Regions from separate parts of the Homo sapiens genome. Here region 2 is linked to region 1. The links are contacts of gene promoters, found by promoter capture Hi-C in blood cells and fetal thymus (Javierre and others, 2016). All regions are on one chromosome and are shown on one strand. The core of a region is centred on a gene start or on the middle of the fragment in contact, and the rest is flanking DNA. Distances in the headings are between cores, read along the strand shown.

Region 1 (6,749 bases), core at 1-2,500:
GGTTTCACCGTGTTAGCCAGGATGGTCTCGATCTCCTGACCTCATGATCCACCCGCCTTGGCCTCCCAAAGTGCTGTTTTACAGGCGTAAGCCACTGCGCCCGGCCTAATTTTTTGTATTTTTAGTAGAAATGGGGTTTCACCATGTTGGCCAGGCTGGTATTGATCTCCTAACCTCAGGTGATCCACCCACCTCGGCCTCCCAAAGTGCTGGGATTATAGGCATGAGCCGCAGCGCCTGGCCGGCTTTTTTTTTTTTTCTTTTGAGGCAGGATCTCACTCTGTCACCTAGGCTGAAGTGTACTGACATGACTACTGCTCACTGCACCCTTGACCTCCTGGGCTCAAGCGATCCTTCTACAACAGCTTCCCAACTAGCTGGGACGACAGGTATGTGCCACCATGCCTGGCTAATTTTTTGTATTATCTGTTGAGACAGAGTCTCATTGTGTTGCCCAGGCTGGTCTTGAACTGTTGGACTCAAGTGATCCTCCTGCCTCAGCCACCCAAAGTGCTGGAATTACAGGTGTGAGCCACCATGCCCTACTATTGTTAACTTCTTTAGAGAATCACATTATTCCTCAAAATCATGAAAACTAAGAAGATGAGTAGGCCATGCAAGGTGCCTCACGCCTGTAATCCCAGCACTTTGGGAGGCCGAGGTGGGTGGATCACCTGAGGTCAGGAGTTCGAGACCAGCCTGGCCAACATGGTGAAACCCCATCTCAACTAAAAATAATAATAATAAAAACATTTAGCTTGGCGTGGTGGCAGGCATCTGTAATCACAGCTACTTCAGGAGGCTGAGGCAGGAGAATCACTTGAACCTGGGAGGTGGAGGTTGCAGTAAGCCAAGATCAAGCCATTGCACTCCAGCCTGGGTGACAGAGCAAAACTCTAAAAAAAAAAAAAAAAAAAAAAAAAAGATGAGTAACATGATATAATGTGTTGTTTTACATAAGAGCCAGAATGTTTACCAAAGTCTAACTCTCAGGCCTGTAGGGAAGAAATTGATTAGGAGATATACCTAATGTGAATGACGAGTTAATGGGTGCAGCACACCAACATAGCATATGTATACATATGTAACAAACCTGCATGTTGTGCACATGTACACTAAAACTTAAATAATAATAAAAAAGAAACTGAAAGCTTGTATTTCCTTATTTATGAAACAGATGAAGCACTGGTAAGAATAAGACAATATATGGATCATCTATAAAGCACCATTTGTTTTTGTTTTCTAAATAGTGTGGAACAGTGTAATATAGGATTTGACATCAATGAAGAAGGTTCAAGTACAACCTCTGTGTATGCCAGCTGCCTTATAAAAGGCTTATAAGAAGCTTATCTTACCCCAATCATTGAAACACATTTAATGATGTAAGAATTAAAGGGATGATATGTGTATGAGGAGGGGCATTTTAATTCAAATAGCTATGTAAATGTAAGATGTTTTACACTGTATTATACCAAGTTAAGTAAACCAGGGCCTTATGTTCATTATTTCCTAATCTTTGGTGGGGGTGAGGGAGGAGAGAACTGAAGGACTCTTACAGCAGAAACACCAGTTAATATAAAATAATCTCCACTACTTAATAGAGATACAAAAATAATAAAGTTGTGGCCTTCGTTCAAAAGGTAACTACCACAGTATATGCTAATTGGGTGGGTAATCTCTCTTCTCAAACACACACTCTCATATAAAACTGCCGCCAGGATTAATTACGAGTGTATCAGTAGTGATGGAGATTTTTCTCTATGGATCTGAACTAGTCCACCCACTGTCCAGATCACAAATAAGAATGAAAATCTTTCCATGGGAATATAACAGGGAAGGGCCATTTCCAACCTCATTCATTCACTTAGTCCCTATCTTATACCAGATTATATTTCACGTGCTGGGAATTCAACAGTGAGCAAAAGAGAAAATACCTGCCATCATGGAGCTCACATTCTAGCAGAGAAATATAGACAGATAAAGATATTTGCAATAGGTCAATGATAATTAAGTGCTATAGAGAAAAACAGGTAGGCAAAGGGGCTGCAGTTTTAATTAAGGAAATCAAGAAAGGCTTCACTGAGAAGATGCCATTTAAGCAAAGACCTAAAGGAGATGAGAGAGCAAGATACATGGATAAGTAGAGGGAAAGTAGTAGGGCTACACAAACGTCTCCAGCAAGTTCAGATAAAACAAAACGCAATCCTTTACCTTTCAAAAGGGGCTGGAAGGTTGGAATCTCTTGCAACTTGATGACATCGGGATCGTTGCTGACGTTCCGTGAGGCCTGGGAGCCCTGAGCTACAACCACAATATCATCCATCTTGGCTCTATGCTTGGCTGGTGAAGGAGTCACTGAAAATAAAGTTACACTGCTTAGGAGATGCATATTAGGCATCTCTGCCTCACCAAAGCAGTTTTTGGTGTAGTGATTAAAAAGAATAATTTTATAAAATGTAGCTATCTTGCAGTTGGGGTTGGGGTGGCAGGGATGAATTATAGAAACTGTTTTCTATAGTATTTTTAAAAGCTCAGGCTGGAGCCAGGCACGGTGGCTCATGCATGTAATCTTAGCACTTTGGGAAGCCGAGGTGGGCAGATCACCTGAGGTCAGCAGTTCAAGACCAGCCTGGCCAACATGGCGAAACCCTGTCTCTACTAAAAACACAAAAATTAGCGGGGCATGGTGGCGGGTGCCTGTAATCCCAGCTACTCAGGAGGCTGAGGCAGGAGAATCACTTGAGCCCGAGAGGCGGAGGTTGCGGTGTGCCAAGATCGTGCCACTGCACTTGAGCCTGGGCAACAGAGTGAGACTCTGTCTCAAAAACAAACAAACAAAAACGCCACCTCAGGCTGGGTGTGGTGGCTCATGCCTGTAATCTCAGCACTTTGAAAGGCTGAGTGGGAGGATCACCAGAGTCCAGGAGTTCAAGACCAACCTGGGCAACATAGTGAGACCCTATCTCTAAAAAAAAAAAAAAAAAAAAAAAAAATTTCTTTTAATTAGTCAGATGTGGTGGTGCACACTGTAGTCCCAGCTACTCAGGAAGCTGAGATGGGAGGATCACTTGAGCCCAGGAGGTCAAGACCACAGTGAGCCATGATCACACCACTGCATGGGTAAGACAGCAAGAGTCTCAAAAAACAAAACAACAACAACAACAAAAACCCTCAGACATTACAGGATTTTATTTTATTTTGAGGCAGAGCCTCGCTCTGTCGCCAGGTTGGAGTACAGTGGTGCAATCTCGGCTCACTGCAACCTCCGCCTCCTGGGTTCAAGTAATTCTCTTGCCTCAGCTTCCTGAGTAGCTAGGACAACAGGCATGCACCACCACATCTGGCTAATTTTTGTATTTTTAGTAGAGATGGGGTTTCACCATATTGGCCAGGCTGGTCTCGAACTCCTGACCTCGTGATCCACCCACCTCGGCCTCCCAAAGTGCTAGAATTACGGGTGTGAGCCATCACGCCCAGCCCATTACAGGATTATATAACATGAATGAACTTCTTTCATAACTAAATATTTTCTTTTTCAGCACACAAAAGTATAGGCAGATTGTTTTTACTTTCTCTTTAATTCTCCTGCTATCTTGAGATATATATATATATCTCCCTATTTCTAAAATGAGAAATAAAGGGTACAAAATTTAACTGTGACTTGCCCAAAGTCAGCAGTGCTAGACAGTTAGGAAAGGAATTAGACATCTACAAGTTATTGGTACACAAGGCCCATCTCTGCGACACTGGAGTTGCAAAGCTGTCTATCCACCCTACCACATCAAGCCAGCTATGTTTAGTAAGTCCAGGAAAAAAACCTGTTCTCAACCCCCGAATGACTGGCCTATTCCCGAGGCTTCAGCCTCCTCACTCTTTTTTTTTTTTTTTTAAGTCAAGGCGGCTGGGCACGGTGGCTCACGCCTGTAATCCCAGCACTTTGGGAGGCCAAGCCAGGTGGATCACTTGAGGTCAGGAGTTCGAGATCAGCCTGGCCAACATGGTGAAACCCTATCTCTACTAAAAATACAAAAATTATCCAGGCGTGGTGGCATGTCCCTGTAATCCCAGCTACTTGGGAGGCTGAGGCAGGAAAATTGCTTGAATCCGGGAGGCGGAGGTTGCAGTGAGCCAAGATCATGCCACAGCACTCCAGCCTAGGTGACAGTGAGACTGTCTCAAAAAAAAAAAAAAAAAAAGAGTCAAGTCTCACTACATCGCCCAGGCTGGATTTAAACTCCTGGGCTCCAGCAATCCTCCCACCTGGGCCTGAGTAGCTAGGACTACAGCCCCCTCACTCTTAAAATTATAGCATTAGTCCAGGGCAAAAATAGCCAGTAAGTCCATTCTAGGCTGAGGCAAAAATCAGAAATTTGGAGGACAAAGAGGGAGATCAATTCAGGTTCCTTGGGAGAAAGTAATCCATTTGGAGGGAAGTGATTCAAATTATAAAGGACTCCCTAGACCAAGAAATCATCCTCTCCCCCAAATATCTTCCAGACTGGGACAAGAATGAATCTTTAAAGTGTTTTATGCTCTAGAAGGTAATATTCCCAGGCTCATTATAGTCATATCTCAAAGGTTAATCCAGGGATGCCATAGAACTGTTCTGCCTCCTAGAAGCTCGTCTCCGGAGGCTTGGCATTCACTCTTCTAGAAAAATCTCTGCTGCTTTTATTTCTTTTCAAGAAATATTTATTTACCTGTTTTGGTAATTTACCTAACATTTTACAAAAGCCATGCCAGAAATCTTTCCTGCTATAAATTGTGATTCCTCCTTCCCCAGATACCAGAGGAAAGGGGACTTCAAAACACTCTAGCTAACCTCTACTACTTTATCTGTAAAATGGGATTACTGCAAAAATTATATGTAAATGTATGTAAAGTACCGGGCACAGGGGAATAGGCAAATTCTAACATCGGAAATGCTCGAATGCTGTTGGTTCATGGGCAAGAAAACAAATTAAAAAGATGCCACACCGCTTCCCCCTAAAATATGTTTCTGCCCTGCCATAGAGGCAAGAATGTCAAAGGTGGCAATTATTATATTTCTTATAACAGATATGACACTCTGGCCCTTCCAAGGAAATAGAAAAACGTAGCAAAGCTAGTAGATGCTGCTCACCATTCAAAGCTGCCCCAATCCAGTCCCCAGAATGTAGGTCTGAACTAGTCTTGAAAGTCACACCTTAAAGTGAAACACCCTTAGATCTATTAGCTTGCCTATTTCTGAATTACAGCTCCTATCAAGAACAGAGAACTTCTAAAATCGGCGACTCTTTTTAGGCCCCAGATTTAACCAATTTGCGTTAGCAACCCCGGAGCTTAACCAAAGCACTCCCAGCTGTCCTAGCGTGTGGGTAACAAAAAAAGCAGCAAATGGTCCTCAATTAAACATCAGCTGCTTTATCTATTTATTGAACACTCACTGTATTGCAAACACAATAATCCTCCCATTCTTGTCTCAAACGCTTAGAGAAGTCTAAAAATCATGGACAGAGAACAACAATGGAAAACACCAGTGCCTGCTGTCTGGCCAACCTCTACAAGATTAGAAAACGGACCAAGACACCTTCTGAGAAGAAAAAGCTGTTTCTGGAGACCTTTGCACTAAAGGGTTCAAAGCAAGTGGACACCTATCACATATCCCTTCAGAAAAGGAACCTCTAACACCCGTTTTTAAGAAACAGACTGTTCTTAGAGGTCCTATAATCCATCCACTGTGTGAGCCAAATCTCACTACATCAGCCATGAGCACTAGAGCCAAAAATTAATTAGCTCGTCTTTTAAACAGGAGGCTGTAGCTGGGAGAAACGGCTGTTTTGAAAATAAATAAGGGCACTGGCGCCCACGCTGGCTTAGCTTGCAGTCACACGCACTTCCATCAGGGGAATCGAGGCCAGGACAGATGGTGACTTTTTTTTTTTCCTACTAGCACGGTGAAGGCTTTTTCTGTGCGTTCCCGTCCGCAGTCCCTGACCCTAGTCTGGGAGGCAGCCCGCTCTGCAAGGGGACAGGGCGGGCTGGAGGAGGGTGGGAGGTTAGGACACCGACCTGAGGAGTTCAGATCGTTGGGTCGGCTCTCGGCCTCGGAGCTCTGCTCACTGCCCATGGTGCCGACAGCGGTGGCAGCAGAAGAACGGCGGGCCGGGCGGTCACCGCTCCGGCGGCGGGCGACAGGGCAGGGGCCAGGGACCGGGACGGGGAGGCAAAGCAGAGTCTGGGCGCCGCAGCGAGGCTAATGTGTGGGGCTGACGCGTCCAGCCCACGCAGGGGCCTGGGCGGCGGGAGAAGGAGAGGCCCTATTTGGGGAACAGAAACGCAAGGAGGCGCGGCGCGAACGCACGCGGCTAGCCCTCCTTCTTTCCGGGAGCCCTAAGAGAACCGGCAGATGACACTGGCTTTGCCGCACCTGCGGCCGGCGGGCGGCGCCGCTTTCACTCACTGGTTCACGCTCCGCAAGCTCGCTCCTTCCGGGACGCAGATGGGCGGTGCCGGCTACGCAAGACCTTCAGTTCCGGATTAGGAGGCCCCGCCCCCCGGCCCGAGGGAGGGGCGGAGAGACCCGCTCCTGCGACTTAGGGCGATGCCACCTTAAAGGGCTTGACCTCCTCGAAGCCAGAACTGCGGAAGAGGGTAAGCCCTTTCCTGTTGTAAGGATGCGTCACCTTTAAAACACCACCCACACTATTAAGCTCTTCAATACCCACATGTGAGAACAACTTTACAAAATAGGTATTTTTAACCCTGTT
Region 2 (6,749 bases), core at 2,233-4,732, 830 kb before region 1:
AGCAACACTGGGTGTGTCCCTCCGAGTATGTACATCTGAGAGTCCCAAATAGGCCTGAGCTTTTGTGTTAGGCAGCTATGTACATACATGTGGGAGGTTAAAGAAGGAACCATATTCATGCATTTAGAAAATTAAATACCTCCAAATCAAAAACCCCGTGAGTATGATTGACTATGTACATAATTCCAAACTTCAAAAATGCTCCCTGCCCTTCTGAGCCTTAGGCAAAAAAAAAAAAAAAAAGAAGAAGAAGAAGAAGAAGAAAAGATAATGCAATGTAGATCCATCAAGTTGTATTCATTAAATATTAAATAGGCGTTAAGTGTTTAGAGGATGAGAATCATTGGGTGGAGCAACAACAAAACCAGAATAGATATTTTCTGAGTTGTTTCAGGCCAGCAGAATCAGGAAGTTATAAGGAAGTTGATTTTGCTTGATTTAAGGAACTTTAATAAAATTAGAGTTGGCCTGCTAAGGGGAATGAGTGTGGAGGTACACACTGAGGTTCTGAGCTCCCCGCATCTGGAAATTTTAAGATCTGTAGGATGGCCATCTGTTCAAGATGGTGTAAAAATTAGATTTCTGCATACAGTAGGAGAATGAATGAGATCCAAGATCCCTCCCAAATTTAGAATTCTGTGAACGAAATGAAGGATGAAATGGAACTGACTTGCCTCCTGCCCTTTCCTGTGTCCACGTTTCAGTTATGTGCCCCACCAGGCTCCATAGAGTCTACAGAAAAGCAGTCTTGCCTCATCCACAAGTTTTCCCCGGTCTTCAACGTGTCTCTCTCCAGTAGTCCCTGTGGGTCTGGCACTACCTGAAATCCCTAGAGCCACCCAGAGCAAGCCAAGAGGGTCTACATTCCCGGGTGAGGGGTCTCCATGAAGCCCACTGACAAGGCTGGGAACTTGATGGGCCTAATCTGGTCTCTGGAGGAAGCAGGAAGGGCTGAGGAAGGCACAGTGAGTCCTTTCCACTCTCCACAGAAGGGATCTCTTTCCTTTCCCCAGCGGTCTGCCCAGCAGTCCTGGGAGATAGCCAGATTCTAAGGATGTGATTTGCTCCAAGTTGGTTCTTGATGGCCTTTTGCCAACTCCCAAGACAGTTTAGTACCCACAAACAATGTAAATGTGGGGGGCCCTCTGACCAGGGCGCCAGACAGGATGTCCTGCAGCCCCCGCCCCCGCCCCATTCTTCGGAGTCTGGGTGGAATTGGATCTGCCCCTGAGGGTGGGAGGCAGCGGGCAGAGTGGGGGGGAAAAATAACCCTCACATTTCGGGATTGTCAAAGCTGAAATCCAGAAAAACTCTCACAGCTAAGGGACTCTTTCACTACTTCTTGGAGGAAGAGCAGAGAGCAGGAATCAGAACGGTATTTTTCTAAATTGTCTTCAAACTCCAGGAAGTAACATGTAGCATATTTTCTCCTTTATAAACCTACAGTATCATGTGAAACCTTGCCACAAATAATGCAGTTCATGATGGTTTACACTCCCAACATTGTCAGGGCTTTCCGTGTGTTGACTGGTTATTAGTTTTAACCTGCACAGAACTAAAAGATTTGTATAATTTTCACAGGATATTAACACTATTGATTTAATAATGGCTAATCCACATCCATGTAATGTGGAAATAATAAACATGTGAAGCAAATGTAGGAGTTCCCTTCATCTTGAAAAGTTGCCCTGATGCCTACTCAATCGTCCCCCTTGGGGCAGTTTTACAAGGAGCATTGCCTGCTCAACACAGGGTTGATTACATGTAACTTCTCTCCCAACGTACTGCCTTTCTAAAGGAAAAGCCTAACTTTGTCAGACAAGCTGAATCCTGTCATTCTCATCTTGTTTACTTGGGGAAAAAATATACCAGTGTCTATGTTGAAATGGGCCACACCTCGGTAGACACTCACCCAAAATGCTAACCGAAAAAAAGAAAAAAAGAAAAAAAAGAAAAAGCACCCTTCTTCATTCCTCCAGATTTCATGATTAGCATGAGTGTTTGCATTTATACAATCACATTTCGGGAACAAGAGAAAAGATAAGCATTTCAAAACAATCACTGCCTTCCATGCAAAGAAATTCCACATCCACTTTCTTTTAAAAGTTCTTTTATCGTTTCTGGTATGCCATCTTTTCACTCAGCACTGAAAGGCAGCTCTTTCTGGGGTGAAAGCACAAAGCCACTCAACAATTTTTAACAGGCACAGATGAAGTTCTCCTGCCCCACCCTCTTCTCCAAACCCAGCTTCCCTTTTGCCTCCCCCGCCCTCCACATCTGGCCAAGAGAAGGCATCTGGAATCCTCATCAGCTCCTGCTTCGACCAAGTGAACCCCTCCCACGTTTCATTTAAAACACCATTTGCCTCCCTCTCTTTCTCTCTCTAACAGTTTTCTTTTTTCATTTTTTTTCTTTTTCTTTTTTTTCCTTTTTGAGACAGAGTCTCACTCAGCTGCCCAGGCTGGAGTGTAGTGGCGCAATCTCAGTTCACTGCAACCACCATCTCCCGGATTCAAGCAATTCTCCCGTCTCAGCCTACCAAGTAGCTAGAATTACAGGCACCTGCCATCATGCCTGGCTACTTTTTGTATTTTAGTAGAGACAGGGTTTCACCATGTTGGCCAGGCTTGTCTTGAACTCCTGACCTCAGGTGATCCGCCCGCCTCAGCCTCCCAAAGTGCTAGGATTACAGGCATGAGCCACCGTGCCCGGCCAACAGTTTTCTTTAAACAAACCAATCCCCCTCTTCCCATCCTGTGAGGAGAAAAAAAATACTTAAATTTAAACAGAAGTGAATAGGGAAGCAAACAGGCAGGAAAAGCAATGTCAAAAATAAACTGAAAACCAGTTATCTATCCACCACCACCCAAAAAATCCCAACCAACAACCAGCGAGCAGAGTAACAGTTCAAGTCCTGAAGCAATCGGAATCAAAACGGAGGAGGTGAAAAACATCTGGCCAGTTCCCGATGTCATTTCCAAGGTGTGTGGTGTTTCCTCCATAAACAGGATCCTATCCCAGTTTGTTTCAAAGTCCCTGCTCCCTCCACATCCTAGAACAAGAACCCGGTCACTGCCAGGCACGATTTTAGCCCCATCCCATTGATTTCCCCAGACTCCGTCCTCAAAATACACTTTTCTGAACTTTCTAGAAAAAGTTGTCTCTGTATCCACTTTGAGCCAAAAGTTTCAAGGACTTGGTTCTTAGAGGATCATAGAAAAATAGCGAAGGAAGAAAAGAAAAAGCAAAACTAAGATGAGGTCAGAAGAAGCAGAGCCGTGGAAAGGAAGGAGAAGTTTTGCTGAGAGTCCCCACAGCGTTGGGAGCTGTCCTACCTGAAGGGTCCCAGCGACAGAGGCGCTCTGAGTGGCAGGTGCTGGCAGCAGCCCTGGTCCGCTCTTCTGGAAGTATGTGACCGCACTGAGGGGAAGGACCTGCCTCCCGAGGTTATAAGTTTCCTCTGCTGGTGTACTGGGGTGTGTAATGGGCGGTTTCTTTTCACCGTGTTTTAAAGGAGTTTCTATGAATCAGTCTGGCTTTAAAAAAAAAAAAAAGATTTGTTGGTAAGCTACGCCCTGCTAAGCTGGCAGTCAGTCAAGAGTGGCTGGGAGTGAGCCATCAATTCAAAGAACCCTGTTGTAGGCTCTCTCTGACTCAGACACACAGACCACAGTGGAAAAAAGGAGGGACATTGCTTCAAATGAGTAACAGGATCACACAAATAGATCTGTTTACTGAAGCCCATTCCTCCTCACCAAAAAGGAGACTTGGTTACCATGGACATAAGGCAAAACACAAGGTTTCAGCCTGGGAGGGGGAGGAAAGGGGCCAGTGTCCTGCTGACTGAAGTCCTAGGTCATCATCAAGCGAGATTCCCAGTCTTCCTCCCCCATTAAAAGCATCAGCTGCTGCTCACTGTCAGGAATTATCAGATTCCTTTTTTTATTTACTTCCCTGCCTGACCCTGGTGCACTGTCCTGTGGGTGGCTGTACAGGGAGGCCCTGAAGGCGAAGGGGACACACTAGGAGCTCTTGCAGCCCTGCCTCTGAGTGATGGAGCACTGATTGAACAGCAGAGAATTCCTGGTCTTTCATTATGCTCTGCTAGTGCCCGTGTGGACTCTCCACATTCCAGGAGGAAGTCCTCTAGTTAAGAACTTTGCTCTCTGTAATAATCAGCTGGACCTTGTTCTACAATTGACTTTCTTGAACTTGGCCAGTAGCATAATCATCCCTACTACCTCCCTGCACCACTCCTCTCTCTCTCTCAACTCTGGAGCTGGGAGAGGCCTGTGAAGTCATCTCATCCCACAGCCCAGGCATTCCACTGGAGAGAGTAAAAGCCCAGATGCCTGAGTTCAAGCCCAGCTCTCCACAAATTTGCTGTGTGACTTTAGGCAAACCACTTAACTTCTCCATGCCTATTTTCTCATGCATAAAATGGAGATGGCAGGTATGTAACTCATAGAGCTATGATGAGAAATACACATATAGGGGCTCATGGCAGTGTGCATAGTGAGCGCTCAACAAATCTTAGCTACAAGGATTATTTTACTGAAGAAGCAGCTCAGGCCCAGAGAGGTGAAGTGACTTATTCAAGGAGATACAGTACGTTACCAGTAGCAGCTTGGATCTAGGTCAGCACATCCAAGCAATTCTATTTCTGTTATTCTCTGCTGCACCCTGACAACTTATTTCAATTCAAAATATGCGTGTGTAGTATTTATTCATTCATTCTGCCAATACAGGCTGCACGTCAGTCTTCACTGGGCCTGATTCAGAGCACTGAGTCACAGAAGTGAATGACATCCCTGCCTCTTGGAACTTATATTCCCTAAAAAGATAGAAAACAGACTGGTGGCTATTCACCAAAATGTTGATCAAATTCGATGATAAAATTATGGATGCAGTTTAGTTTGTTCTGGTCACAATTCTGTATTTTCCAAATCCTCTGCAATGAACCTATATTACTGTCTTTAGGATGTTGGCATGTGGATGGATGGATTTTAGGAAAAAATATTTTAACATGGGAATGTGGAGAATATTTTCTAAGGTGGATGATAAGGAAAACACAACACACACACACACACACACACACAATGATTTGATGATGCTGCATCTTCACAAGTCCCTGAGAACTGAATTCTATCTCTGTAAAAGTAAGAAGGTCTGGATTTTCTCACTGAAAACTGATGACGTGATAAAAGACTGCATGTTTCTCATAGAGTTCCTCACCTCTCCCCTCTCTCATTGCTCATTTGATAATAAAAATGCCTGTCTGAGAGGGGCCACTCCCAGCAGTGGGTTGAGAGTCCCTGTGATCTCTGAGCATCCCAACCCTCAGGGAGGGGAGGGTGTCTGCAGGTGAGGCCAGGAAATCCCCAGGCATGTGCTGGCGCTCCAGATGGGCCAGTCTCCCCTGCTGGAATCGGCCTGTCTCCCTGGCCTTTTCCTACTCTCAGGGTTGCCTTTCACCCCTGATGCCCTCTGCCAGTTTTAAAGTCTCTCTTCCCTCAGCTGCCTGGAAAGGAGAACTGGACTCCAGAGGAAGTGTTCTCAGATGCTGAGGAGTATGTGGTCTGATTGCATTTCTTAAAGAGAAACCTGGAGCCAAGGAATAGCAGAGGGGAGGCATTCTCCCTCCCACCTCCTTCTCGGGCTTAACAAGGGGAAAAATCAGGAACTTTTCTTAAAGTACTTGAGTAGAGGAATCCTTCAGTCTATCTGGATTTCCATGGATTTCACAAAGAGAGACGCTGGGCTCAGGGACGGGCTTCAAAACAGGACCCAGAAAGCAGGAGGCCCAGTTTCCACGCCTACTACCTGGCAGTGGCTGTGAGCGAGGCATCTGCCTGCCTCCATTTCACCTTAAAGTGAGTAGACAGCATCACCTTCCAAATGGGTCTGATAAATCTCACCTTCCTGTGTGCTTTTGGAGATGTCTAGGTTTGGAGAGAAAATATTAAATGCATTGAGCTGTGAAAACACACCCATGCACACATGCAAAAACACATGCACGCACACACACATGCACACATGCACACACAGAGTGGTGCCATAGAAAGCCAAGTTGTGTAAATATTTTTAAAAGATGAATGCAAGTCCAGGATTTCTAAAGACTTATAATTAACCCTTGAAATATCACTGAGCTTATTTTATAAAACAAAGTTATCCAGTCTGGGAAAGCAATTGGATCTGTTCTGGCTGAAGTTCTAGCTTTTTGTGCCTCTGGATGTGATTAACTCGTTAAGCCTGAGTGTTCCTTTGGCTATGAGCAGACAATTTTGAGACTACAGACAGTAAACGGTTCAGGGCCTAAAACCACATGGGGCTGGAGATACAGCTCCCCTGGCGTTTATATGGTCTTTCCAAACAATGTCGAGTAAGCTGCCTTTCTGCTCCCATTTCCCCCATTTGGAAGGTAAATTAGACACATTCATTTTCTGCATGGGCAAAGAACCGGACAAAGTTTCATTTGACCTCACTCAATAAAGCCATATATTCTTGGGAGGGAATGTCTCTCTCACCCAGTGCAAATGTTACTCCAGCAAAGGGATATTTTCCCCTTTTTCGGAAGCAACAAGAATCAACTTCTGGCACGTTGCCATTTGGGGCAGATTTTCAAGTTTGAACCGGCGTAAACATTTTAATGAATGCATGAAACGAAGGCTTTTAATGACTGATACAAGAAGTCTACTAAGGCAGGTCTGGCCCCTACAGCCCACAGAAAAGAAAACTAATAATAGCTT

The links. The method cuts DNA at HindIII sites, captures the fragments that hold promoters and counts their contacts. A CHiCAGO score of 5 or more calls a contact.
Region 2: the fragment with the promoter of EMP1 here is called in contact with a fragment that was not itself captured in region 1 in 1 of 17 cell types (naive B cells); the score reaches 5.3 in naive B cells.

What each region holds. Positions count from the first base shown.
Region 1 is chr12:12,356,812-12,363,560 of GRCh38, reverse strand. BORCS5 (BLOC-1 related complex subunit 5) reads right to left here and starts at 6,483. Exons shown (of 4, transcript NM_058169.6): 1 at 6,052-6,483; 2 at 2,212-2,355. The coding sequence starts at 6,109. It overlaps LOH12CR2 (loss of heterozygosity on chromosome 12, region 2), which reads left to right and starts at 6,494. Exons shown (of 2, transcript NR_024061.1): 1 at 6,494-6,633. RefSeq lists enhancers at 5,054-5,133, 6,020-6,698 and a silencer at 6,074-6,153. The HindIII fragment of the contact is 194 bases long and covers 1,154-1,347 here.
Region 2 is chr12:13,193,459-13,200,207 of GRCh38, reverse strand. It overlaps EMP1 (epithelial membrane protein 1), which reads right to left and starts at 3,482. Exons shown (of 5, transcript NM_001423.3): 1 at 3,336-3,482. RefSeq lists an enhancer at 942-1,442. The HindIII fragment of the contact is 10,564 bases long and covers 1-6,749 here.